6 separate regions of the Homo sapiens genome follow, and regions 1, 2, 3, 5 and 6 are each linked to region 4. The links are contacts of gene promoters, found by promoter capture Hi-C in blood cells and fetal thymus (Javierre and others, 2016). All regions are on one chromosome and are shown on one strand. Each heading gives the region's core, a stretch centred on a gene start or on the middle of the fragment in contact. The rest is flanking DNA. Distances are from core to core; before and after follow the strand shown. Region 1 has its middle 130 kb from the start of LINC01307. Region 2 overlaps LINC01307 (long intergenic non-protein coding RNA 1307). Region 3 has its middle 85 kb from the start of LINC01307. Region 4 holds the start of DPH5 (diphthamide biosynthesis 5). Region 5 has its middle 6.6 kb from the start of LINC01307. Region 6 overlaps LINC01307 (long intergenic non-protein coding RNA 1307).

What was found. The method cuts DNA at HindIII sites, captures the fragments that hold promoters and counts their contacts. A CHiCAGO score of 5 or more calls a contact.
Region 1: a fragment that was not itself captured here is called in contact with the fragment with the promoter of DPH5 in region 4 in 1 of 17 cell types (total B cells); the score reaches 5.2 in total B cells.
Region 2: a contact is called between a fragment that was not itself captured here and the fragment with the promoter of DPH5 in region 4, in 3 of 17 cell types (activated CD4 T cells, total CD8 T cells and non-activated CD4 T cells). The highest score is 7.9, in activated CD4 T cells.
Region 3: a fragment that was not itself captured here is called in contact with the fragment with the promoter of DPH5 in region 4 in 2 of 17 cell types (total B cells and naive B cells); the score reaches 12.3 in total B cells.
Region 5: a fragment that was not itself captured here is called in contact with the fragment with the promoter of DPH5 in region 4 in 1 of 17 cell types (non-activated CD4 T cells); the score reaches 7.4 in non-activated CD4 T cells.
Region 6: a fragment that was not itself captured here is called in contact with the fragment with the promoter of DPH5 in region 4 in 7 of 17 cell types (activated CD4 T cells, naive CD8 T cells, total B cells and 4 more); the score reaches 9.6 in activated CD4 T cells.

The regions. Positions count from the first base shown.
Region 1 is chr1:101,451,317-101,455,879 of GRCh38, forward strand. No RefSeq gene overlaps it. Among named protein-coding and RNA genes, the nearest start is that of LINC01307, 130 kb to the left of the region's middle. RefSeq lists enhancers at 1,099-1,148, 1,518-2,717. The HindIII fragment of the contact is 466 bases long and covers 2,039-2,504 here.
Region 2 is chr1:101,348,369-101,352,451 of GRCh38, forward strand. It overlaps LINC01307 (long intergenic non-protein coding RNA 1307), which reads left to right. Exons shown (of 5, transcript NR_126402.1): 4 at 1,679-1,817. Among named protein-coding and RNA genes, the nearest start is that of LINC01307, 27 kb to the left of the region's middle. The HindIII fragment of the contact is 6,334 bases long and covers 1-4,083 here.
Region 3 is chr1:101,406,413-101,410,501 of GRCh38, forward strand. No RefSeq gene overlaps it. Among named protein-coding and RNA genes, the nearest start is that of LINC01307, 85 kb to the left of the region's middle. RefSeq lists enhancers at 3,839-3,888, 3,909-3,958. The HindIII fragment of the contact is 1,000 bases long and covers 1,859-2,858 here.
Region 4 is chr1:101,023,437-101,027,392 of GRCh38, forward strand. DPH5 (diphthamide biosynthesis 5) reads right to left here and starts at 2,348. Exons shown (of 8, transcript NM_015958.3): 1 at 2,247-2,348; 2 at 1,873-2,030. The coding sequence starts at 2,007. It overlaps DPH5-DT (DPH5 divergent transcript), which reads left to right and starts at 2,410. Exons shown (of 5, transcript NR_109849.1): 1 at 2,410-2,625. RefSeq lists enhancers at 1,878-3,077, 2,170-2,279. The HindIII fragment of the contact is 3,765 bases long and covers 1,482-3,956 here.
Region 5 is chr1:101,314,943-101,319,501 of GRCh38, forward strand. No RefSeq gene overlaps it. Among named protein-coding and RNA genes, the nearest start is that of LINC01307, 6.6 kb to the right of the region's middle. The HindIII fragment of the contact is 2,184 bases long and covers 269-2,452 here.
Region 6 is chr1:101,365,680-101,370,030 of GRCh38, forward strand. The region is part of intron 4 of LINC01307 (long intergenic non-protein coding RNA 1307); the gene reads left to right. Among named protein-coding and RNA genes, the nearest start is that of LINC01307, 44 kb to the left of the region's middle. The HindIII fragment of the contact is 740 bases long and covers 1,661-2,400 here.

The sequences.
Region 1 (4,563 bases), core at 1,022-3,521, 430 kb after region 4:
GTTTAGGGAAAAACTATCTCCAACCATGTTTTTCTCTACTTTTGTAACTGCCCAATGAGTTCCCCTTACTTGCTGCCTAGACAGAGCTGATTTATCAAGACAGGGGAATTGCAATAGAGAAAGAGTTTAATTCATGCAGACCTGGCTGTACGGGAGACCAGAGTTTTATTATTACTGAAATCAGCCTCCCAGAGACTTGGGGATAATTTGGTGGGTAGGAGATCAGCGAGTTGGAAGTGCTGATTGGTTGGGTCAGAGATGAAATCATAAGGAGCTGAAGCTGTCATCTTGTGCTGAGTCAGTTCCTGGGTGGGGGCCACAAGGCCAGATGAGACAGTTTATTGATCTGGGTGGTGTCAGCTGATCCATTGAGTGCAGTGTCGGCAAAATATCTCAAGCACTGGTGATGTTAGGTTTTACAATAGTGATGTTATCTCCAGGAATAATTTGGGGAGGTTGAGAATTTTGCAGCTTCCGGCTGTGTGACCCCTAACCATAACTTCTAATTGTGTGGCTAATTTGTAAGTCCCGTAAAGGCAGTCTAGTTCCCAGGCAGGAAGGGGTTTTGTTTTGGGAAATGATTGTTATTATCTTTGTTTCAAAATTAAACTATAAACTAATTCCCTCCCGGAGTTAGTTTGGCCTACGGCCAGGGATGAACAAGGACAGCTTGGAGGTTAGAAGCAAGATGGAGTCGGTTAGGTCAGATCTCTTTCACTGTAATAATTCACTGAGTTATAATTTTTGCAAAGGTGGTTTCACTCTCATGCCACAACAATCATCAACACAGAAGAAGACTTCTGTGACTAAATGTGTGTGGGTATTTCCCCCACACGCCAAGCAGTGAATATCAGTTGATACCAGTATTCTAATTCAGTTCTGATACTATCTTTCAGTTCTGTTGCTATCTACCCTGAGATAGTGTCGGATCCCACAGGTTAAGGGTTCCCCAAGACAGCACGCCCCCAACACACACACTAGTCACAAATCTGGGCTTCTGGAATTTCTGACTGACTGTCTTCAAATTGGGGTCCTCATGACCCCCCTTTTTGATTCAATTAATTTGTTGAAGCAGCTCACAGAACTCAGGGAGACACTTACTTATGTTACTTGGTTTATTATAAAGGATATTGCAAAGGATACATATGAAGAGACACGTAAGGTGAGGTATGGGGTAAGAGGCTGTTACAGTAGGCAGCTACTCAGACATAAGCTGGGCAAGAGAGGTCCCCTTCCGCTCCAGTAGGACTGTCAGGCGACCACCATGTGATGGTCAGGCAGTTGCTAAACTGTCTCTCTAAAATCATAATTGGCCACAGCCAGTGCCAGGAAAAGGCAGTCTCCCAATAGATAGAAACATCTGAAATTGGTGATTAGCAGCTTCTCGGTAAGATATCAGGAGTTGGGTGAGTGAGCTCAAGCCTGTGTACTAAGAGGCAAAATGGTGGGGTTTAACTGGTAAATGACCTTCTAGGACATTTGACTGGTAAGGGAACATGTGCTCAACTCTAAACAGTAAACACAGAGCACGCGGCCCCTCCCAAGTGCTGGCAGGCTATGAATGCGGACAGCCCACCTCAAGAGAAGAATCCCGGGAGAAGAGATGCAGACCTCGGAAGCATGCCAATGTATAAAACCCCAGGTCAGAGGTCAAACCGCGCGCTTATCTCTCAACTAGACTGCTTGGCCCTCTTCCAAATGTACTTTACTTCCTTTCATTCCTGTGCTAAAGCTTTTTAATAAACTTTCACTTCTGTTGTAAAACTTGCCTGGGTCTCTCACTCTGCCTTCCGCTCCTCCGTCAAATTCTTTCTTCTGAGGAGGCAAGAATTGAGGTCGCTGCTGACCCATAAGGATTCACTGCTGGTAACATACTTTGGTGCCGTGTGACTCAGATACATTCCCTAGTGCTAACAGGGCAAAGAGCTTTTGTGCCCTCCCTGGGCGTGCCACCCCCCAGGAACCTCCACGTGTTCAGCTCCCAGGAAGCTCCCGTAACTATTTCTTGAGATCCTGCAGAACACAGTATCTAACTATAAGCTTAATATAGTCCAATAAATATATTGACTGATTTGTCATGTGTGCCTCTATCTCCCTTTACATTACCTTGAACTCTTGACTTCCTTTCATTTACTCAAGGTCATTCATCAGCTCCAGAGAGGATCTTTAGAGCACAGCTCTGAGAATAAGAGTGAAGTTCTTGGTTTGTGAATTGTGAAAATTTGGACTTGGGTGCTAGAGACCTTAGCCCTGCAGTGGGCAGAATTTAGGCCCTAAGTGATAGATTTGGAAGAATATGCTGTGCATCAGAGGCAGTTTTCTGATATTCAGATAGGTAAAGATTCTATGGGATGAGAGAGAGAAAACAAATCAGGAGAGAATCACAGGACATTGCCGATGTGTCTCTGAGACAGGTCCGACACTCCTCCCAGCCTCTTGGGGCTGAATCTTGATGAAGGAATAATGACGTATCCCCATATGGGTTTGGGGATCACAGCAGAGAAAGCTTGTGCCTTACTTCCTGGGTGAGATGGAAAGTTAATCATGTTTACAGTCTTGTACTGCAGGCTTAGTGTAGAAGTAGGAGAGATGGTGGCTTGTTGAGTTCTTTTGCACCATGTAGGAAGCAGCCAAAGGTTTTCTATGTCCTCAGGAGACACACAAAATGAGAGAAGAAGGTGGGAGGGAAGAGAAACAGAGAATATGTAGGGGTGTTCTTCCTGAAGTCACAGGAAAGAAGGCATCTCAGCAGATGCTAGTGTGGAGAGATGAGAACAACTTTCTACCCACTTCCTGCCCCAGCCCACAGCCTTGACATCCTGTAGGCTTCCCCTTCCCTATATTAAACCAATCTTGGAAAAAGGAGGAGAAAACTGTAATTGAATCGTATATGCCACCTGGTGGGATGGGGGCTAAAAATAGAAATTCCGTCTTGGTGATAGTGATGTTATATTTCTTGCATACCCAAGCTTTATTCCTCTGACATTTGTGAATATTCTTTCCCTCAAGCTCACCTCAAAGTCCTCATCTTTCAAGAAGCATTCTATTGCCTTTCCTCGGTATCACATAATTTCTGATTTATTTCCTCCCTTGCACAGTGCCGCTGGACTAAGAGAAAGAACATGCAGATTCTAGTTTCAGCTCTCATTTGCTGAATGTCTGATGGAGAACAACTCACTATCTCTGGGTCTCCATTTGCTTTTATGTAAAACAGTATGTCAGAGGAGGTTGTGAGTTAAAGCTGAATAATGGATGAGGAAGTGTTTTTATTATTTTTATTTTTTGAGACAATGTCTCTGTTGACCAGGCTGGAGTGAAGTGGCGTGATCTCAGCTCACTGCAACTTCCTCCTCTGGGGTTCAAGCTATTCTCCTGCCTCAGCCTCCCGAGTGGCTGGGATTACAGGCCTACCCCACCATGCCCAGTTAATTTTGTATTTTTAGTAGAGATGGGGTTTCACCATGTTGGCCAGGCTGGTCTTGGACTCTTAACCTCAAGTGATCCGCCCCCCTCAGCCTCCCAAAGTGCTGGGATTAGAGGCATGAGCCACCACACCTGGCCGAGGAAGTGTTTTGAGGACAAGAAAGTTTCAAATGCATGTAAAGTGGGATTATGGCTGCAACTCTTTTACCCTGGCTGCAATATTCCTAGCTGGGAATGTGATTTTGGTATCATTTATATATTTAAATTAGGCATGAACTACATTTCAGGATCTCTATTCCCACTCATTGAGAGGTTGAGGAAAATCCAAGAATCGAATCCCTTCTCAGTTAAGAAGTAAGTTAGCACAGACCACTTTATCCCTCAAAGAGGGAGAGAAAATAATTCCAAGAAGCTTCTTTGTTCTAAAACTTCATCTGCTCCTCCTAAAGACGATTCCTATAAGGAGAACCTCCCAACAGCTGATCTCCAGCAGGATATTTTATGTCATCTATAGTTCTTGACCCATTAACCCTTCAGATGCCTTCTGTGTCAGGAATTCGGACAGCTTCATGCTCCCAGCTGCACACCTGCCAGGGCAGAACAAAACAAAACAGGTGTACAGCTGAGTCCCCTGGTGGCAGATACAGTTTCTTCTCTTTTTCAAAAGTTTTTAAGGTTGGCCTAAGGTAGCAGGACTGTAACATAATAACACACGCACTCATTTACTTGTCCTTTCAATTTCCATTTTGCCCCCGGAGATTGCCCTGCAGGACTTAGCTAATGCCCAATTCATTACTTTAGCAAACATGAATTGAAAACCTATTATGTGCCAGCTGTGGGGGACAAAGGGATCTATGAGATGTGGATCCAGCCCATGTGACCTTAGAACCTAAAGGGAGAGGTGACTAGCTAAGCTGTAAAATAAGTCCTGCTCAGTCTAGGTGGCTCACACCTGTAATCCCAGCACTTTGGGAGGCTGAGGCAGGAAGATTGCTTGAGCCCAGGAGTTCGAGGCCAGCCTGGGCAACATAGTGAGACCCCATCTCTACAAAATATACAAAAATTAACTGGGTGTGGTAGGGCGCACCTGTAGTCCTAGCTACTTGGGAGGCAGGAGGATTGCTTGAGTCCAGGAGGTTG
Region 2 (4,083 bases), core at 469-2,968, 320 kb after region 4:
AGTACATATACGTTTAGGATAGTTAAATCTTGTTGAATTGAATCTTTATCAATATGTAATGTTCTTCTTTGTGCTTTTTCTGTTGGTGGTTTAAAGTCTGTTTTATCTGATATAAGAACAGTGACCTCCACCCTAAATGGAAAACAAAAAAGAGCAGAGGTCACTATTCTTATATCAGATAAAACAGACTTTAAACCAACAACAGTGAATCCTTTACTTTCAGCCTGTGGTTATCAGTAAGTGTGAGATGGATCTCTTGAAGACAGTAGACCGATGGGTCTTGTTTTTTTTTTTTTTTCTTTTTTCTCTAATCTGCTAGTGTGTGCTTTTTAAGTCAAACTTCCAGTCTTCTAAGATGCTATCCTCCTAGTTACCCTTGGTGCTTTGCTCCTCACTTCTCCTATACTGCTGTGATAATGTCTCACCTTTCTCTCAACACTCTGAATCACACTCCATGTTGCTACCAGATTTATCTAAAAATAGAGCTGATTATACTTAGAACTTTGTTGGCTCTTTGATGTCCATTCACGAATTTATCCCAGCATCCTAGTTTAACCTGCAAATCTTTCATAGTCTGTTTCTGGCTTTCCTAGCAAAACAATTGCCTTACGGAGCATTGCATAAACCTCTGATTTTGCTTCCCTAATCATTTTGCTAGTCTTGTTTTGACACACTAAACTTTCAATTATTTGCCCTTATTAACATTCTTTTTTCTGTTTACTATGTTCTGAACTCCTTTTCTACCTAGCAAATTCCTCCTCATACTTCAATGCAAAGCCAGTGTCACCTCTGTGTAAAGCCTTTTCTGACACCTTCAGGGAGAGCTAGGTATTCCCTTTCTTATGTTCATATAACAGCTTATATATATATCTTTATTATTGCACTTATTAGATAGCATAGAAGTTATTTCTTTACTCTTCCCCCCTTTTCTAGCCATTGAGATCTTCAGGAGCCAGACTTTGCCAAATGTATTTTTTCTCTTTCCACCTTACTAGCGTGTTACATATAAATGCTCAATTAGGCCAAGTGTAGTGGCTCATTTCTGTAGTCCCAGCTCTTTGGGAGGCCAAGGCGGGAGACTCACTTGAAGCCAAGAGTTCAAGACCAGCCTGGGCAACATAGTATGACTCCGTCTCTAGGTAGGTGTGCTGATGTGTGCCTATAGTCCCAGCTTGAAGCCTGTAGTCTTCAGCCTCAGGGGGCTGAAGCAGGAGGATCACTTGAGCCCAGGAGCTCAACACTGCAGTGAACTGAGATCAAGCCACTGTACTCCAGCCTGAGTGACAGAGGGAGACCTTGACTGTAAAACAAAACAAAACAAAACAAACTCCATATAAATGCTTAATTAATGTTAATAAAGGACAAATGATTCTTTTTGCTGGCAAGATGGAAAAATTTGGATTCATAGTTTGCTGAACAGTGATATCCAGAGTGTCTGGCTTAACAGATGATTGAGACCATGCTACCTGATCTTGTTGACTTCTTTTCCACATTGAGATTTCTATTTATCTTCAGCCAATCTTTCTACCACCATCTCAACTCACCGTAAAAAGTATCTCATTTCTTCTCCATTATTAACCCATGTATTTTTACTTTCATCTTGTATCCTTTTATTTTATTTTGGAAGCATATATATAACGTTTGCCCTTCCCATTCTTTCCGCCATCTCACTCCCCAGCTCCCACGTGAATCATTCAAGAGTTAAACAAGAGAAATGGTTCCTGTCAGTGCAGGTGATGAAAGAGATCATTACAACATAACTGAAGGTCAAGACAAGGATAAATACCAGCAAAATCATGTAAGAATGATGCTATCAGGTAAGCCATGATTGTGTAAGAAAAACCAATGAAAGTTCATTTTTCCAGGACAGTTAATTTTTTGCAGTATGGGAAAGGCTATGTGTTATAATAATTTTTAAGCTATTTAGGGAGAAACTGTAATCACTACTCTACCTTGGGACACCTTCATCCTACTATGAAGCACTGGAAATGGTGGTAGGTGAGATTGATTGTATTTTCATAAGCCATGCCAGAGGCTAAATGCCTTTGCAAGAGTGGGCTTAGAAGTTATGTCAAGGAAAAACATAGCAGCTTTGGAACTGAAGGACACTAGAGAATTCTGAGAAGAAACAGAAAGTTTAAAAGGCCATGGAACCAGATGAAAGGAGAAAGGGTAGTGTATATAGAGAAAGAAGTTCTCTGAGCTGGCCTACCCAATGCCTATCAGGGACTTCCTGGAAGTCTGGCTATTGATACATTTGCTCTTTCATGCTGCAGTGAGATAAACTAGTTAATTAGAGGCTCAACATCCAGTGTTCAACTTAAAAATATATATATATTTATGTATAATATATATAAGTATAACATATATAAATTATATATATTATATATTATATAAATATATACAAATTATATACATTATATGAAATATTATATATAATATATTATATATTATATATTCTATATATAGAATATATTATATATTATAGATATAATATGCATATATATACTTTTTTTGAGACAGAGTCTTGCTCTGTCGCCCAGGCTGGAGTGCAATGGTGCAATCTCGGCTCACTGCAACTTCTGCCTTCTGGGTTCAAGTGATTCTTTTGCTTCAGCCTCCTGAGTAGCTGGGATTACAGGTGCCCGCCACCACGCCTGCATAATTTTTGTATTTTTAGTAGAGTCGAGGTTTCACCATGTTGCCAGGTTGGCTTTGAACTCCTGACCTCGTGATCTGCCCACCCAGGCCTCCCAAAGTGCTGGGATTACATGCATGAGCACTTTGCCTTGCCTAAAATAATTTTTATCATGTTAAACATATATAAAATAATATTTTTCATTCTAATCATTTTTAAGTGTACAGTTCAGTGGGACTAATTACCTTTACAATGTTATGCAATCATCAGCACTATGTCCAAAACTTTTTCATCAACTGAAACAGAAACTCTATAACCATTAAGCAGTAATTCCCCTATTTTCCATCTAGCCCCTGGTAATGTCCAATTTTATTTCTGTCTCTTTTAATTTGCCTATTCTAGCTACCTCATGTAAATGGAACCATACAATATTTGTCCTTTTGTGTTTGGCATATTTCACTCAGCATGTCTTCAAAGTTCCTCCACGTTGTAAAATGTATCAAAAAACTTACTTCCTTTTTAAGGCAGAATAATATTTCATTGTATGTATATAATACATTTTGTTTATTCATTTATCTAGTGACCATTGCCCAACTTTATAATTCCCCCACATGTAGTATCTTATTACTGGTATCTCTGAGGACAAAGCTCTCTGAGCCTTCTGGGTAATTCTGTATGTGTGTGTTCTTTCTAGTAGGAAGGTGGGAACACAAGATGCCATCTCTCTGCCTCTCACTTTATTTCAGTGTGGGTGTTGGATGGCAGTGTGAGCATCCACTCATGAAGATCACTTGACAAGAGACACAGATGGTTTTCTGTCTTTCCTCCCTTCTTTCCTAACAGGCACTTCCTGTGGCCCCAAGTGGAGGAGTCTATTGCCTGGTTTGCCTCTCTTTCAACTCTCCCTCTGTCCCCACTTATCCCTTGCTCCTGGCATCCTGTCTCTGCTCTGTGCTAAGTGATTTATCAGAAGTCACCTCATTTGCTTTTCTTTCTTTTTCTTTCTTTCTTTCTTTCTTTCTTTCTTTCTTTCTTTCTTTCTTTCTTTCTTTCTTTCTTTCTTTCTTCTTTCTTATCTTTCTATCTTTCTTTCTTTCCTTTTTCTGAGATGGAGTTTCACTCTTGTTGCCCAGGCTGGAGTGCAATGGCACAATCTCAGCTCACTGAAACCTCTGCCTTCTATGTTCAAGCGATTCTCTTGCCTCAGCCTCCCAACTAGCTGGGATTACAGGGATGTGCCACTATGGCTGGCTAATTTTGTATTTTTAGTAGAGACAGGGTTTTACCATGTTGGTCAGGCTGGTCTTGAACTCCTGACCCCAGATGATCCACCTGCCTTGGCCTCCGAAAGTGTTGGGATTACAGGTGTGAGCCACTGCGTCGGGCCTCATTTACTTCTTAAAGCACCCTCTCTGACGTGTAAGTATCAAGTCCAGGTCAAGACA
Region 3 (4,089 bases), core at 1,109-3,608, 380 kb after region 4:
ATGAAGTTCCTTTAGCCATTTTCACCTCACCAGGACCATCTAGAGGCCAATTTTATGTTCAGCTTAGTCCTGTAATCATACCTTATTCTTTATTTTGGAAGACAGTGCTCCTGTCTGTGATTGTGGCTGAAAGGCTAATGTTCAACATCCAATTCTTGACATTTTCCTGGGTCATCATGCTCCTTCCTTGGGGTTCCAAATGCTGCTCGCTTGTAGCTCTATTTGGAAATCTTTTGATTCTGCATTGAATTGTAATGCAGAATAAAACATAAAAGTTGGTTATTTCTCTACCCTTATTAGATTTTCAAAATTTTGCAAAAAGAAGGGATGGGCACATCTGTGGCATATCAGCACAGTACTGGGGACTAGCAGTAGGTACTTAATAGATATTTGGAATTAAAACAAAACAATCTTTTCCACCATGGAGCCAAGTTTGTCCTGTGATTAAGGACTATTTCTACAATTCAAAGAGCTGTTCTTAAATAGTAAAGCTGTCATCTTGATTCACTGCCAACCCAAGGCCTTGCTCAAAATGAATGATTTTGCTCCGTATTTCTTAAAGTATATTCTCCTACATTGTTAGAATGATAATCACTAAATACTAAATGCTTCAATAAAGTGTATAATGTGCTTCACATATTGAGAATATATTTATAGGAATCTTTATAATTTAGTTGTATAAGTTGGGCAAGTTAACCTCTTTGTGTCTAGGTTTTTTATTGTGTAAAATGGGGATAAGTATTGTGGACAAGCCTCACAAGTCCTTTTTTTTTTTTAAGTAATTTCTGATAGTTCTACCTTTAATTCCACCACTTTCCTCCATTCACCAAAGATTTGTTATAATATTTCTGCTATTTACAGGATTCTCCAGGTTTTTCCTACAGATGGAGACAGTTCCTACAGTAGAAAGTGGTAATTTATGTGTGACGTGACCACTAGCTGGCCTTACCAATGTGTCTTTTTCATGCTTTAACTGTAGTTGGGTCAAAAGTTGGAAAACTGAGGTGATGAAATCTGTCAGAGAAGCATAGAACTATTATTTTGTGGCAATGTTAAGTGATTTTTAAAAACAGATGTTAATTGAGGTCCAAGCAGTAAATTAGTAGTTAAACCTCCCTTAGGTTTTACAAAGAGAGTTCAAGACTGACTTAAGATCCCTGTCCTGGATTAACATGAAGTGAGACTTAAAATTAGATTGCCAAGAAGGTAATGTATCACCAAAGGGTCAGGTGATATATGACCAAAGGGTCAAGGTGAAAAGAGAAGGTGATATATCACCAAAGAGTCAGGGTGCACCTTGTTTGCAGTGATATTTGTTGGGGCAGCTCTTAAAAACGAGCAAAGGTCAAAGTTGTTAATGAAGCTGACCCCACAGGTGTGAAGCTTGTAGGTTTCAGTTCAGTTTTACCCTTCAGAGATCAGTGACAGCCAGCCCTAGAGGCACCATCTGCAGCCCTATGGGAAAGAGGTCTGATTTAGAACATGTGGGAAAGGAAGAAGTACATTTGAATTTGAAAGTTGACTTAATTATATTCTCTGCTTTCAGAGAGCTTCCCCTTTGCACATCTCACCCTTTTTCTTACCCACGCTGCAGAACTATTTTGGCATATGTTTTACCCCAAATGACTGGTTCCTATTTTCAATTCTGTATCTAGTTGAGAGATACAGATGAGGGGTCAGGAAAGTTATTCTATGGTTTGGAGTCTTGCCAGGCTCAGTTGATATCTTTGACAAGAGCAAGGCTACTGCTCATTTCTGATGTCCCTGTCTGGGGAGCTCAAAGTGCTGTGTAGATGTTGTCTCATTCATTTTACCTGAGGCAAGTTGGAGGCATGCATCAGTGTAAAATTTTCTTTAAAGCTTCATTCATATGAGTAAGAAATAGATAAAAGGAAAATACTGCCTATGAGTCAGAAACAGATATATTTAAGAGATGACACTGAAAAAAGCTAAGGTTTTAATAATATTTTTGCCTTATTCTCTTGGGACAGATGAGGAGGATATAATCACAGGGCAGGTTTCACTGAGGAAGTTGTTATAAAGGGCAAGAATATAGTGCAGTGTTTAGTTTAAAGAGGGCAGCTTATAGCTGTATATCCATTCAATATATCCCAGAAGATTGGCGATAAATTTAAGACAATGTCTCCAAGTTGATTGGGCATATATTTCCAGCTTTGCTGCCTCCATTCTTTTGTTATTGGCCAACAAACCTCCTATTTTAATTTTTTATTTTTGGATAGAATTAACTGGAGACACTGTAGAATCTTAAACTTTTATGATGCTGTTTTTTCTGCCACATTATAAAAGTATTAAATTAAGAATCAACAAATGTAAATTACTTTTTGTTCTGCTGCTGTGAACCTTGAGTGGGAGCAATACTAAGCATCTTAGACCTGAGTTCCTTCATGTATAAAATGAGAAGGAGGAACCATATCACCTCTAAGATCCCTTCCAGCTTTGCAGTTTCCAGAAGTAAGAACATGTTCTATTACCTGCCATGAAGAAGAAAACATGGGAGAATATGGGAATCTTCTTTTCTGAAATCTCCTTTGTATGATTTTTCTTTCTCTCTTTTAAAATCATAGCTATAATTTTAAAAATCTCATTTAAAACTCTCTGTGTTTATTGTAGAAAAAAGTTAGAAAATATAAATAAGCAAAAATAATGTAAGAACTATGCATAATATCACTACTCTTGGATAATTACTGTTAACACTTTGGTAGACATTATTTCTGACTTTCTTTCTGAAAACACACCCATAAGCACACATATCCTTTAGTTATGCTAGTGACATCTTGAAGGATATTAAGGCTAAGTACATTGAGAAAACTTTACTACTAGATGTTCAAGATGTACCAAGCTTGGAAGATGATACAGAACAGTCCTTTACTTTCTCCTCTGAGTTATGTGTCAGTTCATCCAGGTTTGCCTCAGATGGGCTCCCTCTGGGCTCCCTTTTTACCATTTTTTCTCTCTGCTAGTTTATTGGTTTCCACTCTTGAAAAGGTGGTGTCAGGGCCTTTCATTCTGTGCTTTATTTAGAAGGGATGTTTTGTAAAAATCAGAATTAAACATTTACAGGCAAAAAACCCTTTGATTATATTGATGCCTTTTATAGCAAAAATGTAATACTTTACTAGTCTAACAGATTCTCTCTCTCTTTTTTCCTACCTTAAAAAGGCACAAACAAAACAAAACAGAATGAAATAATAACTGTAACAACAACAATAACAATATAAGAAAAAACAAAACACAAAATTCCTAGGAAGCAGTAGAAAAGAAAATAAAGAGATGAGGAAGAGCTCTGAGCTCTGACCTGCTTTATATTTACATATGTAAATAGTGTCTCAACATACATCCTATCTCAACAATCCATTTGAAAAATGTGATCATATTTTATACAACTTGAAACTCATTTTTTCACATAATAATCATAAACATCTTTTCAATCATCTGATAAATGTATAGATTATATTTTAATAGTCAAATATTGCTACATTACATATAACTTATCTAACCTACCCCCAATTATTGGACAGTTATTACCTTGTTTTTGCTGATACAAACAATAACAGGCTAAAGTAATTATATAATTATTAATGTCTGGGTTTACAGCCCTTTACACTTATGATAGGTATGTGGAAAATATATAATCAAAGTCATGGCAGACATTACTCACAGATCATGACATTAAAGCTGAGCCTGTCAGCACAGTGCTCAATGTATCCACAAATAATTGATTGGAGATGACAAGCTGGTTGAAGTCTAGGCTGCTGTATCTCTGTGAGTCTTCCTATTGCTAAAAACAGGAATGGAGACAGGTTGGGGAAAATGGCAGATATGAGGCAGGACTAAACTGCAGCTCCCATTCAGACAGAGAGCAGCATGTGGAGACTCACATCGTGAACTTTTGCTCCCACATCTATCACAGGAACATACCAGGAAATCTGAGAGAATTCACAGACCCTCTGAAGGAAGTGAATCACTCTTGCAGGCCCCGAGAGACAGCCAAAGTGTGAAAGTGTGAAAGGGGGATCATCCACCCCCAAACACACACTCTCACTGGGGAACCTGAAGGTTCAGATCACA
Region 4 (3,956 bases), core at 1,098-3,597:
TACTGTGAAGAAACAGATATTCCAGCACCTTAACAAAGTACACATAATTTACTGTAGGTAAGGCTGGGTCCAGCTTCAGGTCTTGACTCTGTAAGTAGTAACTCCAGAAGTTTTGTCTTTGGAAAAAAATACTTTACAAAATAACAGCAGCCAAAATTAACATTTAGCTAGCACTGAAAATTTACAAAGCACTTTCATATACATCATCTCAATAAAACACTACATAACCCTCCAACTGGTAATTGCCACTTGACAAATGAAGAAACTGAGGTTCAGAGAAGTTTGGAAATGTGAACATTGACAATTTCTATTTCTGAACAGTTTTGTGCCATATACCATAGTTAAGAACCTATGCTAAGAATTATGCTGAACACCTAAAGTAGATGTTTTTTACCCCATTTAAAAAAGACACTAAAGTTAAAGGACTTGTCCAAGGTCACATTAACATGTAACAAAGATAAAACTATAACCAAACTTTCCTCTATGCCATCCCCTGATATCTCATTCTATCAAACTGCTGTTTTGTTATTTGTCTGTCTTTTCTTGAAGGTGTTAAGTTCCTTTTACTTTTCCTTAATCACTGATTAGAGACGCACATTTCCATCATTTCGAGCTTAGATATTTTGGTTCTATCCTAAGAGTGAAAAAATGAGAAAAAAAAATGTTTTTTAAATCAAAGCTGGCCTTAGGCTGGGTGTGGTTGCTTGTGCCTATACAATCCCAGCACTTTAGGAGGCCGAGGTGGGCAGATCACTAGAGTCCAGGAACTTGTGACCAGCCTGGGCAATGTGGCAAAACCCTGTCTCTACAAAAAATACAAAAAATTAGCTGGGCATGATGGCACCCACCTGTAGTCTCAGCTACTCGAGAGGTTGAGGTGGGAGGATACTTGAGCCCAGGAGGCTGAGGCTGCAGTGAGCCATGATCATACCATTGCACCCCAGCCTGGGCAACAGAGCAAGACTTATTTTCTCTCTCTCTCCACATATATGTATATATCAAAGTTGGTCTTTACACACAACTTTTATTTAAATGCATGGCCAATTCAAGTAGCAGTTCTTAATTCCTTCTATAAGATTTTAAAGTAATCTGAGGCCTAAAAATTTTAAGTCTATTTTTTGTTTGGAAGACATGACAATAAATCTGCTCCCTCCTCCCATAACATATGTATTAATCCTTTGATTTACATTCTACTTAGAGTTTGACAATGAACCTGAAGTTGACCCTTCCCCCAAATTTACTGGGCCCTTATGAGGGCCAACTATAAATGTATAATATACTAACAAATACTTTGGTTACTTAGTGTATACTCATGTAAGTGTATACTCATACATTTTTATATATTAAGTCCAGGCTCACTCAATATATACAAGTGTATCAGTATAAGCCTTATTGGGAGATAGTCTATTTAAGATAAGATCTCTCTGGATAGGATACAAAAAGGCAATCGCCATTCCCTATGGACACACTTCAAAGGGGGAAGCTTTCAGCTTGGTTTTTGAATATATATAACCAACTCATTAAGGCTGTGTCAGCTCCTCATTAGCACTCAACTCAGAAAGGGTTTCTTGACTACCTCATGAAATAAGGGGTTTTGATAACTATCCCCCAGGAGTATAAAATAGCTTTCCTATTTACTGGAGAAAGCCACAAAATTAGACTTGTAAAATAGGACAAAGCACCCTTTCATTTTCCAAGTCACTTGGTTGGTGTAAAATTTCCATTCTTCTGCTCCTCAGATCATTAATGAACAAGGGATGCGTTTCAAAGGGTTTAAACAAGCAGACCTGAAAATTCTGTTCAGCTTAGTGTATGAAAATCAGATGTTAGATAGCTTTCTTCCCAGGAGGCTGGGGAACGCTCAGCACCTACCAAGGCTTCCTTCCCTACAGTTAGGACTGAGGTGTAGGCTTCCAGATACACTCGACTGCAGCGTCTAACAACTTCCAGGCCCTTGACTGTGATGTCCTTGGCATCTCCCAGGCCCAACCCGATGAGATAAAGCATTTCAAACTTGAGGAGAAGAGAGACTGCAAGACGAAGTGGACAGAAAAACCGTCAGTAACACCGAGGACATCTAAAATCTAGTGATGAACACGATGACAACCAAAGTAGCACAAGAGAAGAGGCAAGTCACAAGGAGGGGTTTGGGAACCTTATGTCACGCTTAAGAACTGGGATAAGAGGTTTTAAACAACCCTACCAGTTTTGCCTCTTGTTACACAAACCTAGGAGCAGCCAATTACCCGCTGAGAGAATCGTAGGTAGTTCTCTGGCCTTTACAAATTCTTAACTACCACCTTTCCGCAGAAGCAACTGCAAAAGCGCCGGCTCCGTGCAGAGAAAAGGCCCACGCCGCCGGCCTCACCTACGGTGCCGCAAAATGCTGGTGCCTTTACTGCACTTTACGACTAGCGGGAGGGGGCCGGGCTAGCGGGCTACTGGGCTGCGGAGACCAGAGCCCGGCTCCACTGAAGAAACCCGCCGGCTGCTGGGGCAGGGCGGCGAAAGGTCAGTCGGCCGAGAGGAGTCCGTGGAGCCACCGTTTCATAGCCTCAGGGAAAGGATCGGGCGTGCTCACGAGCCCTCTAACCCATGGCTTAAACACCCGCTTCCTAAGCCTGGGTAAGTGCAGTAGCTCTTCGCTCGAGAGGAGCCACGTGGAAGAGAGTCGGGAGGGGCCCTGCGCCCTACTCCTCCTCTCCAGAAACAGGGAGGGCTGGGAAGGATTTTCCTGATTTGTCCCCGGATTTGGCCGAGTGCACAGATTTTAATTCCAGTCTTCTCATCCTCCTGTAGTTCAACTAGGTGTCTTCCTGGTGAAGCGTGAGATTGGCAAACCCAGCAGTGAGTGTGCTTCTGATTTCCCAACAAGGCAATGACTCCTTGGGTTTGTCCCCAAGACCTTATGCCTGGAGTGCCCCAAGGATGTTTCAGTCACCCTCAGTGTCAGGAATCCCAGACCTTCCTGTACCTAAAGAAGTGACCTTTAATAGTGCTCAGGGATTTCAGACCTCTCAAGTGTTTCTGCCGGGGGAATTCTTATAAAGCTGTTGGTTACATGTAATTAGAAATAGGGAAGATTTGTTTTGACTGAAAATGCTCTTCCCAAGGTGACCTCATCCAAGTTAAAAAAGACAGCTGTCATTGCTTTTCTTAGCAGGCAGTGTTGGTTACTCAGAATTTTCCTGTTGCCTCCCCGACAATGCCCAACTCCGCTTCCTTGAACCTTGGCTTTTTTTCATTCCCAGGTTCCATCCACCTTTTTGCACTTCCTATCTATAAACTCTTCGTGGCTGTGTTTTATCCCCTCTCATTACGTTGATCTATTCCTCACACCACATACACACCCCAAAAAACTCAAAATGGATCGTAGATGTAAATGGAAAACCTAAACCTATACCAGAAGAAAACATAGGAGGAAATATTCGTGACCTTATTTAGGCAAATATTTCTTAAACCAAAAGCGTGATGAAAAAAATTGATAAATTGGACTTCAACAAAGTAAAAATTTATGCTCTTCAAAAGACTTGAAGCCACATACTGAAAATATTTACAAAGCATGTATCTGATGAAGGACTTGTATGGAGAATATATAAGGAGCACTCAGAAAGCAATAATAAAACAGTTCGTTGTTTAAAAATGGGCAAAAGATTTGAATAGACACCAAAGAAGATACACAAATAGCAAATAATTATTTTAAAAGATCTTAAACAAACAAAAAAAGATCCTAAACATCATTAGACATTAGGAAAATAAACATTTAAATCACAATGAGCTACCACAACCCACCTATTAGAATGGCTTAAGTAAAACAAACAAAACCTCACAAAAACTGGCTGTTCACTCAGAATTCCTAGTATCGCTAATATTTTGTAGATTCAAATTTCAGCCTCCTATCCAGACTTCCTCCCTCTTGGCTTCATGTTAACGTTCTGCTGGAAATCTTCACCTAG
Region 5 (4,559 bases), core at 111-2,610, 290 kb after region 4:
GAGGCTGAGGCCCTCAGCCTAAAAGTGGAAAGGAAAGCTGAAAGGAGCCTGGGTCCCCAACTATGGCAAAACTCCCATAGCAGCCCAGGTCTGCCAATTTCTGGCTTTTGTCAGGGCTCTTTTTAACTTATTTTAATATTTTATTTCTTACCAAACACCTAGAATTCAAGAAGATAGGGCTCTTTTTGACTCTCTGTCTCATGCGGCTAAGCCAAATCCGACTGATCTGGTGTGCAATTTGTTCTCGTCCCAGCAGGAGCATGCGAAAAGCTTCTGAATGAATTTGGACCATGGCTCAGAATCGAGCCTCAAACCAACCCACTTGCCTGGTGTGAGGTTGTGTTGTTTTGTAGCCTCTGGAAACTTTGCCCTGCGAATGGCTGCCCCCCTGCCTCCTACTGTTTCCATGTGATTCCCAACCTCACTCCCTCAGGTCTCTAGTTTCTTCTACCCTTCATTTGGATTTGACTTTCTGCCTGGTGACAGACCGGCCGCCCAGCTCGTGTCACCCATGGCTTTAACACCAAACCGCTAAGTCTCCACTCCCGGCTCACTGATCTGTATGTACAAACCTTGGATACTCTCAGCTTCCTTCAGTACTGACAAAGCATAAAGAGCAGGAGAGAGACTCCCAGAAGGTCTGCTAACATATCTCTTCTCCATGAGTCAAACAGACCTGAATTTTTACATGAGGTTAATATAGTTAAGGCCACTCTGTCCCATCTCTCAGGCAGATGCGTTCAGTATTGGGTGAGCCACCAGGGATTGCCAGCCATTTAGAGCCTACTGTGGAAGGATGGGGTTACTGATTTATGGGGAAACCATTCTGCAACAGACGCAAAGAGGCCATCAGTTAAGAGAAAGCCATGGCCACCCGGCCTTGGGCTCTATCAGCGTGATCCTTGGCCGTTCAGCCTCACCCTTGGGAACTGTTCCTTTCCCAATGCTAGCCTTCATCACCAATTTAATTATGATTTCTTAGAGATGATTATAGCTTCTCCTGATGAGAACAGATCCCATCAGGCTGAGGTCCACACCTCTGTTGTTGTTACACCTGCTATATATTCTAACAATTCTAACAGCAGAGTCACCCCTGCTGTTCCCCGTAGGATGACGCTGGTGTAAAAAGGTTACCGTTGCTTCAGTGGCCCTTGGAGAGGGGAATTGGGGGTTGAGTCTTTCTCAAAGCATTCCCACATCGAGGCTTGTATTTTAATTAACCCTCAATCCTAAGCAAATATGTGATAGCCCACTTGAAGGGTGCAGATTTGCTTGCTTGGCAGAAATTCAGGGGCTCCCTTTTAAGCCGGTTGATGTTTCTCAATCTGGGTCCTTGGACAATAGCCAAACAGCAGCAGCAAGCCTCTCCTATCTGCTTGCACAAAGGTGGCACAAATTGCTACTGTTTCTATGACAACTGATGGCTTTTTTCCCCCACTTCTTAAAAGCCACCTGTATGATGGACAGCAGCATGTGGAAGAAATGTGCGAGGCAGTGACTAGCCTGGTAGACTGCCCGAGCAATGTATACCGCGATTTTATTGTCTTCACCAGTCGTGGCTCTTTGTCTCCGAGTTCTTTCCATTGTTTGCCATGCAAGTCACATAGAAGGAGGAATAATAGCTGTTAGGCTGAAGGAAGAGAGACCCCAGCAATTTGTATGCAATCTCATTTGAACTCTTGGATTTGGGAAGGCAGTTTTGCTTCCCCCCCTTTTTTTTTTTTTTTCTAAACTGCTGCTCAGCTTCTTGTGCTTAATGAGGCTTTTCAGAAGGGAAAACTAGCAAACAACAAAACATGAGTTCTGCCCTTTAAGCAATTGCTTTCTAAATTCTTTATCAGAATATAGTTGTACTATCAAGGTGAGTAAAGAATTTCTATATTTGTAATTTACAGTGCCTTACGTCAAACAAGTCAGATTGCGTGGCTCCTGTAACAGCAGTGGCATTTAACATCCCATTTCAATGAATGAGGGATCTATAGGAAAAATTAACTTTCTGAAGATAATAATTACCTAATTAAGTTAAATATTTCTGGTTGGTGGTTCCCAGTGAGAGGGCTGAATATCTTTGGAAGGGCATAAACGTCAGTGCAAGGTGTGGCAAATCTATTAGAGAATCACTATGTCGACAGTCTGAATAAATACAATGACTCCCACAGATTGGTCATTTTATTTTTGAACTGTGACTAGATACTGTTTCAAATAGCAAAGTGCAAATGTATTTACTTTTTTTCCTTTTTTTTTTTTTTTTTTTTTTTTTTGAGATAAGGTCTCACTCTGTAGTCCAGACTGGAGTGTAGTGGCAGGATCTCGGCTCACTCCACCTCCACCTCCTGGGTTCAAGCAATCCTCCTGCCTCAGCCTCCCAAGTAACTGGGGTTACAGGCATGGAGCTGGGATTACAAGCGTGCATCACCACACCTGGCTAATTTTGTATTTTTAGTAGAGACAAAGCTTCCCATATTGCTCAGGTTGGCCTCGAACTCCTGACCTCAAGTGATCCGCCCACCCCGGCCTCCCAATGTGCTGGGATTACAGGCGTGAGCCACCACGCCTGGCTGCAAATGTATTTTCAAAAGTAGCTAAATTACTAGAAGCTTCTGGCCATTATTTTTTCAGTCAATAGATACAAAACAAACATCTGCTATAATGGGGGAGGGGTATCAACAATTTTTAATGTTAGGTAAGGGTTCTTGTAGGCAAAATATCTTGGAAATTGTACTCTGTAGTTTCCCCAGATGGGTAAAGAAGTTTCAAGAACATTTTGGGAGCTAGGGTATCAGAAGTCTAAGGAGGTGTTTAGAGATTGCGTAAGCTGTCTGCGCAGCAAGTATAGAGATCACACTATAGACAGAGAGATTTAGGTAAAAAACAAGTCCTGGGTTCAAGATCAGATGGCCAGAAGGGGGCAGTGTGGGGAACAGTCTTGCATCTAGTTATTGACCCTAGCAGGTGATGTAGAGGTTTGCGTGAGACAGAGAGAACCCAGAAATAAGGGGGCTTGACTTAGAGAATCTCTCTGAGTCCTTCTAGCTTTGATATTCTGAGGCTTTGTATCATATAGCAAGCAGCTTTAAACTACCTAGGCTGATTGCTTTTGGGGGCTTCGAGAGCAGTGATGGGGTGCAGAGCATGCTACCCCCAAATATGGCACCTTGGTATATTATTTTAAGCTGCTGGAAACTGCAGAAGCAGGATGGTCACTCTCTAACCTTCTTCTGCCTTTCTCCCCCGAAGCAGACCATAAGAGAATTATCTATTTATCTTCTCTAAAAGGAGGTCTTAAGACCCTTGTTCTGGAGGGTTCCTTCCTTATACCCAGAGGGCAAGACGAATCTGAACAAACAGGACTTGCTATGTTTTCTCAGCTTATTACCATCAGATCATATCCTTTTGTCTTCCAAACTTCTACACACCTGTCCACAAAAATACAGTTTTCCCTTGTTTCTTTGGGTCTTCATTTCTAAAGCTCCCATATCATGTAAAAATTTTATTAAATTCGTTATGCTTTTCTCATGTTACTCTGTCTTTTGTTATAGGGTTCTCAGCTGTGAACTTTGGGATGGGTTAGGAAAAGATACTATTTTTTTCTCCTCTGCAGCAGAAATAATAGCAAAGTTACACAAGTTACATGGCACCTGCACTTGGTTGGAAAACTTGTGGCTTGGGAACTTTCTTGGGAACTTCATTCCGTAATAGTGTGTTATGGGTCTTCTCAGAAAAAGACTTCATCTCCTCAATTCACCCCTTTTTATTTTTAAGTATATTAGCAGTAGCAAACATTGCGTGAGGGCTCAGAACTGGAGAAACTTCTTAGTTCCAAGATTTCAGAGCAGACTCTGCAAAGGATGGGGCAAAGATGCTCTGAAGGATCCCAAATTATTAAGTGACCTTTGTATGCCTATCTGTAAAATGGGACTCAAGCCAGTGACCCCGTTTTTAAGTTAGTGGTGGTAATATTGTATAACTTAAAAAGCATTTTGCCCAATAAATGATAGTGTTCAAGCCTAAGAGTCTTAAGCTTGTTTTGTGAAACCAGCTCAGTCTAAATGATATGGCGAATAAGATAGTGGAAAAAATAAATTATAGCTTTTGAAGGCTTCTTTTTTATTGAAAAATAGTCATATTAATATTAAACTTATGTTCTCCATGACGTTCATAAAATTTGATATAAAATATTGCCAGCTCATCTGATGAATGGCTAAACCCTTCAATTTACCCAATCTTCCCCTATAATTAACATCCTATTTTGCCATTTTCTTTATCTGGGAAACATTTGCAATGAGTGCTATATAACCACTGCCTCCAAGTTAAGTTTAATTTAGTTTTATCAATGTTTATGCATAGATAATTATTCTTAAGTGTGTAAATGCAAAAATATAGATTTCTTGTTGGTGCAACCTTTTTTTCTTTTTGTCTTGGTTTCTCGCTTCCCCACAATCACTCCCATGTCAACACCTTTGCATGTATTCTTTCTTGTATATTTATCACACACAAATATTCAATTCTATCTATGTCAACACTTGTACACTGACTAGGGTTTTGGAGTATCTCACTCC
Region 6 (4,351 bases), core at 781-3,280, 340 kb after region 4:
ATAGCAAATGCTGCTTCCTGTGGGTCCTGCCTGATTGGAATTGAGTTTTTAAGTGGCCAAATCTGCTTGGGTTATTCTGCTTATGTAAGACATGACCCTGAAAGTGGATACATTGATATTTTAGTCTCAAGATGTATTTTTAATTCTCTAGTGATTGACTTATGCTTTGTCATTTACCAAGTACCCGGTATTAATAAATGGAATAAGTTGGACTAATGGTGCATCACTGAGGAATGGGGAGATCTGACTTCTTGGTAGGTAAAGACTTTTAATCCTTTTTTTTTTTTTTTTTTTTTTTTAAGATAGAGTTTCACTCTGTGGCTCAGGCTGGAGTGCAGTGGCGTGATCATGGGTCACTGTAGCCTTAAATTCCTGGGCCTTCTACATAGTTTGAAATATGCTTAGTAATTTCCCAAGGGGCATGTCATGTAGGTCAGATGGGAGGGTTCTCTTTCTGTGATTTTTTTTGAAGATTAATGTTTGTTTAACATGTTTGAGTTAGTATGCGATGACCAGGAACACAGAGAATCATTTGACCTTTAAAAGGTCAGGATGGAATAATGGCCTATTAAAGCAGTGGTATTTATCACTTTGAACAAAAAAGCATCAATGGAAAGATCCTATCGTCTCATAACTAGGGTAGATATTTCAAATTGTGTATGTTCAAAAACTGAAGCTACCTATTGAAGTGAAATTATACAAAGTCTGGAATTTTCTTTAGCATTTTCAAGCGAAATAGAAAAGGTGGAGGTAGACTAGATCAGCAAGATGATAATAACTGTGAAAGCTGTGTGACGGATAAACAGGGACTCATTATACTTTGTTCTCTATTTTTGTGTAATTAGATTTTTTTTCTATAATACATTTTTTTATAAAAAAGTCAGAAACTAGGGACCAGAGAACTAGATAGAATCTTTGGCAAACTCTAGAGTCCTAACCCAGGAGAGCACCCTGATTTCATAAAGGTGCTGGTGAATCATATGTAGCAGAAACATGTAATGACCAGGAGTCTAGGCTGTCCTAGACAGGAGAGTCAGAGATGGTGGCCTGGGCAGGAAGGCAGGCCTCAGAGAGAGAAGCCAAATATGCCAGGCTACAAGTGCTTATTGCAGTCTGACTGTCTTCAAACTGGTCCATTTTCAGTTAGAGTGGAGAAATTGAGGCTCATGGCCTGCATTTCTGTATTTTGCATGAGGGTGATTGTAATAATTATAATATAGTTCAAAATTAACTGTTTACATTTTTCTGTAGGAAAGCCTTCCTGGTATTTATTAGAGGACAAGTTAATCATCTGTAATTTTCCAGGCCAAAAAGGAAAATGATTCAAGGCAGATGGAATTTTGCCAGTGAGACAGCTTGGTTCTGCCCAACCAGACACCATCTCTTTTGAATAAGAGTTTATGATTTTTCTCACAGGGGAGCTTTGAAAGTTAGGGAGGTACTTAGAGGTGCTACTTTCCTTCTGTTGGGCTTCTAAAATAATAAAGAAACATCCTGGGAAACAGAAAGTTTATTAAAATGTCAGGGGCTTAAAGCAAAGTTACTGATGAAATTATGGTTCTCTGGTTATCATTCCAGACTCTGGAAGTATTAGAGTCTGGGTTTTGGAGTTTGATTTTAAAAAGTATTGATGATACAGAACTAGGTGCATGCAGTCCAAAGCTTTGTAGAGGAAGGATTGTTCTCCCACTAGTTATATGTCTTAGAGGCCAATACTACCCAGTACACTTCGGGTACAAGTTCATATAACAGCTAATAGTTACTGCGTGTTTACCATGTGTTAAGAACTGTCAATGCAAAGTCAGTTACATAAAGGCTCTGGGATGAAGCTCATTAAGAAACATGCAGCTAGCAAATGGGAGAGCTGAGACTAGTGCACGGTGTGACATTAAAACCTATCATGATGCTCAGCTAGCAATCAACAGAAGTTTCTCATGTTTCTTTTGCAGTCTCCTAACCATTTCAGTCTCTGTTCCCTCCTCACCAAGAAGCACCAATGCTAGAAGTGAGAGAGAAAAGTGCTATTTTGCTCCCAGAGAAGCCCAAACAGAGAGCAAAATGAACAACAATGGAGCACAGCTCAGATAACGAAATGCAGGACAGAGGACATACACTGGGGACACGTGCTAGCCCATTAAGAACTTTGAAAAGCAATTCTGTGGGCCTTTTCTTGCCGCCCTGCCCTGTGAGCTTTCTGCTTTCTGTGATTTGACTGTGGTGTCTGATGAAGCCCAGTGTTCAAAATGGAAATTAAGTACAAGGGCTCAGTGACAGATGTTCCTTTTTGCCTTGAAGGAAGATAAACACGTAGTTTAATAGACCAAAATGTATGCGTTGGATTCTTCAGAGGGTAAGCATATAGATGCTCCCGCCCCCTCCAAATAGATCTTGTTTATCTAAAGCTTTGCTCCCAGTTGTCATTAATTGCAGATGACAGTCTCTGCCTTTGCCAGCCTGCTAGATGGTGAGTGTTGTGGCTTTTTAACCTGAAGTTTCATCTGGTCAGGGCCTGAAGTCAGACTTGATCATGGCAGCTGGAACATCATGAAGTAGTCTTGCTCTAGGCAGCTTGTTATCTTTGGAGTAACTGGGGTACGAGTGAGTCTCCCAGGCCTTGGGGTTCTTTTATCCTCCTATGCATGTGGCCTGTCTCTGGATTGCACCATAGTTCCCCCGCAGAGGCCAACATTCTGCCTAGCTCCCGAGGGTCTGGACCTGTCTACTGTACTCTCATATCTTGGCTGAGTCTTGCGCTAAAATCTAACAAATCAGCTGGGTACAGTATTCTTCTACCCTGCTCCATCCCACCCATCAGCAAACCCCTTTGAGCACTGACCTTGATTTTTGGAATGACTGGGGCCTGGGATATGGACTACTAGCCACCTTTGAAGCAAATTCCTGTGCTGACCACTCAAGCCACTCTCATTTATAATTTTTCTTGACTCTTTCTTCTTTCCACTTACTACCGTACTCTGGTCTTTCCCCAATTCATCTCTTATTTCAAATTTGTACGGTTCATTCATTCATGAGTTATTTTGGGGAGCTCCACCTTCCATGTGTCGGACACTGTGCTAGGTCCTGATAGATCAAAGATAAGTAAGTCGTACCTCCTCACAAGCAACTTACAGTGTAAGGGAGCATCTAGGCTTCTAAATAGATGATCACAATGTAACTTGATGAGCACAAGGATCCATATATGTGTGGACAGAAGATCATGAGTGGGGAGGGGCATATAGCTCGACAACCCATTTAATGCAAGAAAGACTTGGATATTAAAGAATGGGATGGACGTAATGTAAAGGAAACTCCAGACAGAGAGCAAATGTGAGCAAAGACTTGGAAGTAAAAACAACACGTTGAATGTAAGGAACCATAAGCATTTTTGTTATGCTAGTGGATAAAATTGAATCAGGGAATAATGAAGAGTGAGGCTGGAAAGGTAGGCAGGTGCCTTATCATGAAGAGTGTTAAAGGTAGGGTGACTGTACCATTTTTCTAAACCCAGATGCTTTTTATTTTGAGACAGAGTCTTACTCTGTCACTCAGGCTACAGTGCAGTGGCGTGACCTTGGCTCACTGCAACCTCCGCCTCCCGGGTTCAAGCAATTCTCCTGCCTCAGCCTCCTGAGTAGCTGGGACTATAGGCCTGTGCCACCACGCCTGGCTATTTTTTTTTTTTTTTGTATTTTTAATATAGAGATGCGGTTTTGCCATGTTGGCCAGGCTGGTCCTGAACTCCTGGCCTCAAGTGATCCTCCCGCCTTGGCCTTGGCCTCCCAAAGTGCTGGGATTACAGGCGTGAGCCACCGCACCCAGCCAAGACACTTTTGAGAGTGAAAGCAGTCTCACTAATAATTATCCTAGGGCAAAAATGGAAAACTAGGACCCTCTCAGGAAAACTGGGAGGCATCCTCACCCTACAATTATGACAAGTTAAAAGGCTTGGACTTTATGCTGCAGGCAATGAAAATGTATTGAAGAGTTTTGAGTTTGTGGCTGCTTGGCATCTGCATATGCTTCCTGTTCATGGAATTGGATATTCTTTGCTATAGGGATTCTTTCCTATAGGAATAGATATCCCCTCCTACAGCTATCAGGCAGGTCGGGGGCAGGCATGTGACCTGTCTCTGCCAGATAGATGCTGTGGCCCGGGACCTTAAGTTCTGAGGGAGAGAAGGGAGGAGTGTGAGCATGGTGGTGAGCTGTAGCACTGCCAGAGGTGGTGGTGTCTAGAACAAAGTTCTAAGCAGACCATTCCTGTGGCCCAGTCTTGGCTGTACCTTGTCTCCCCTGATACATGTTTGTTTCTGAGCCTGGTTCTCTAGGCTATGCATTGATTTACCTCTCTGTA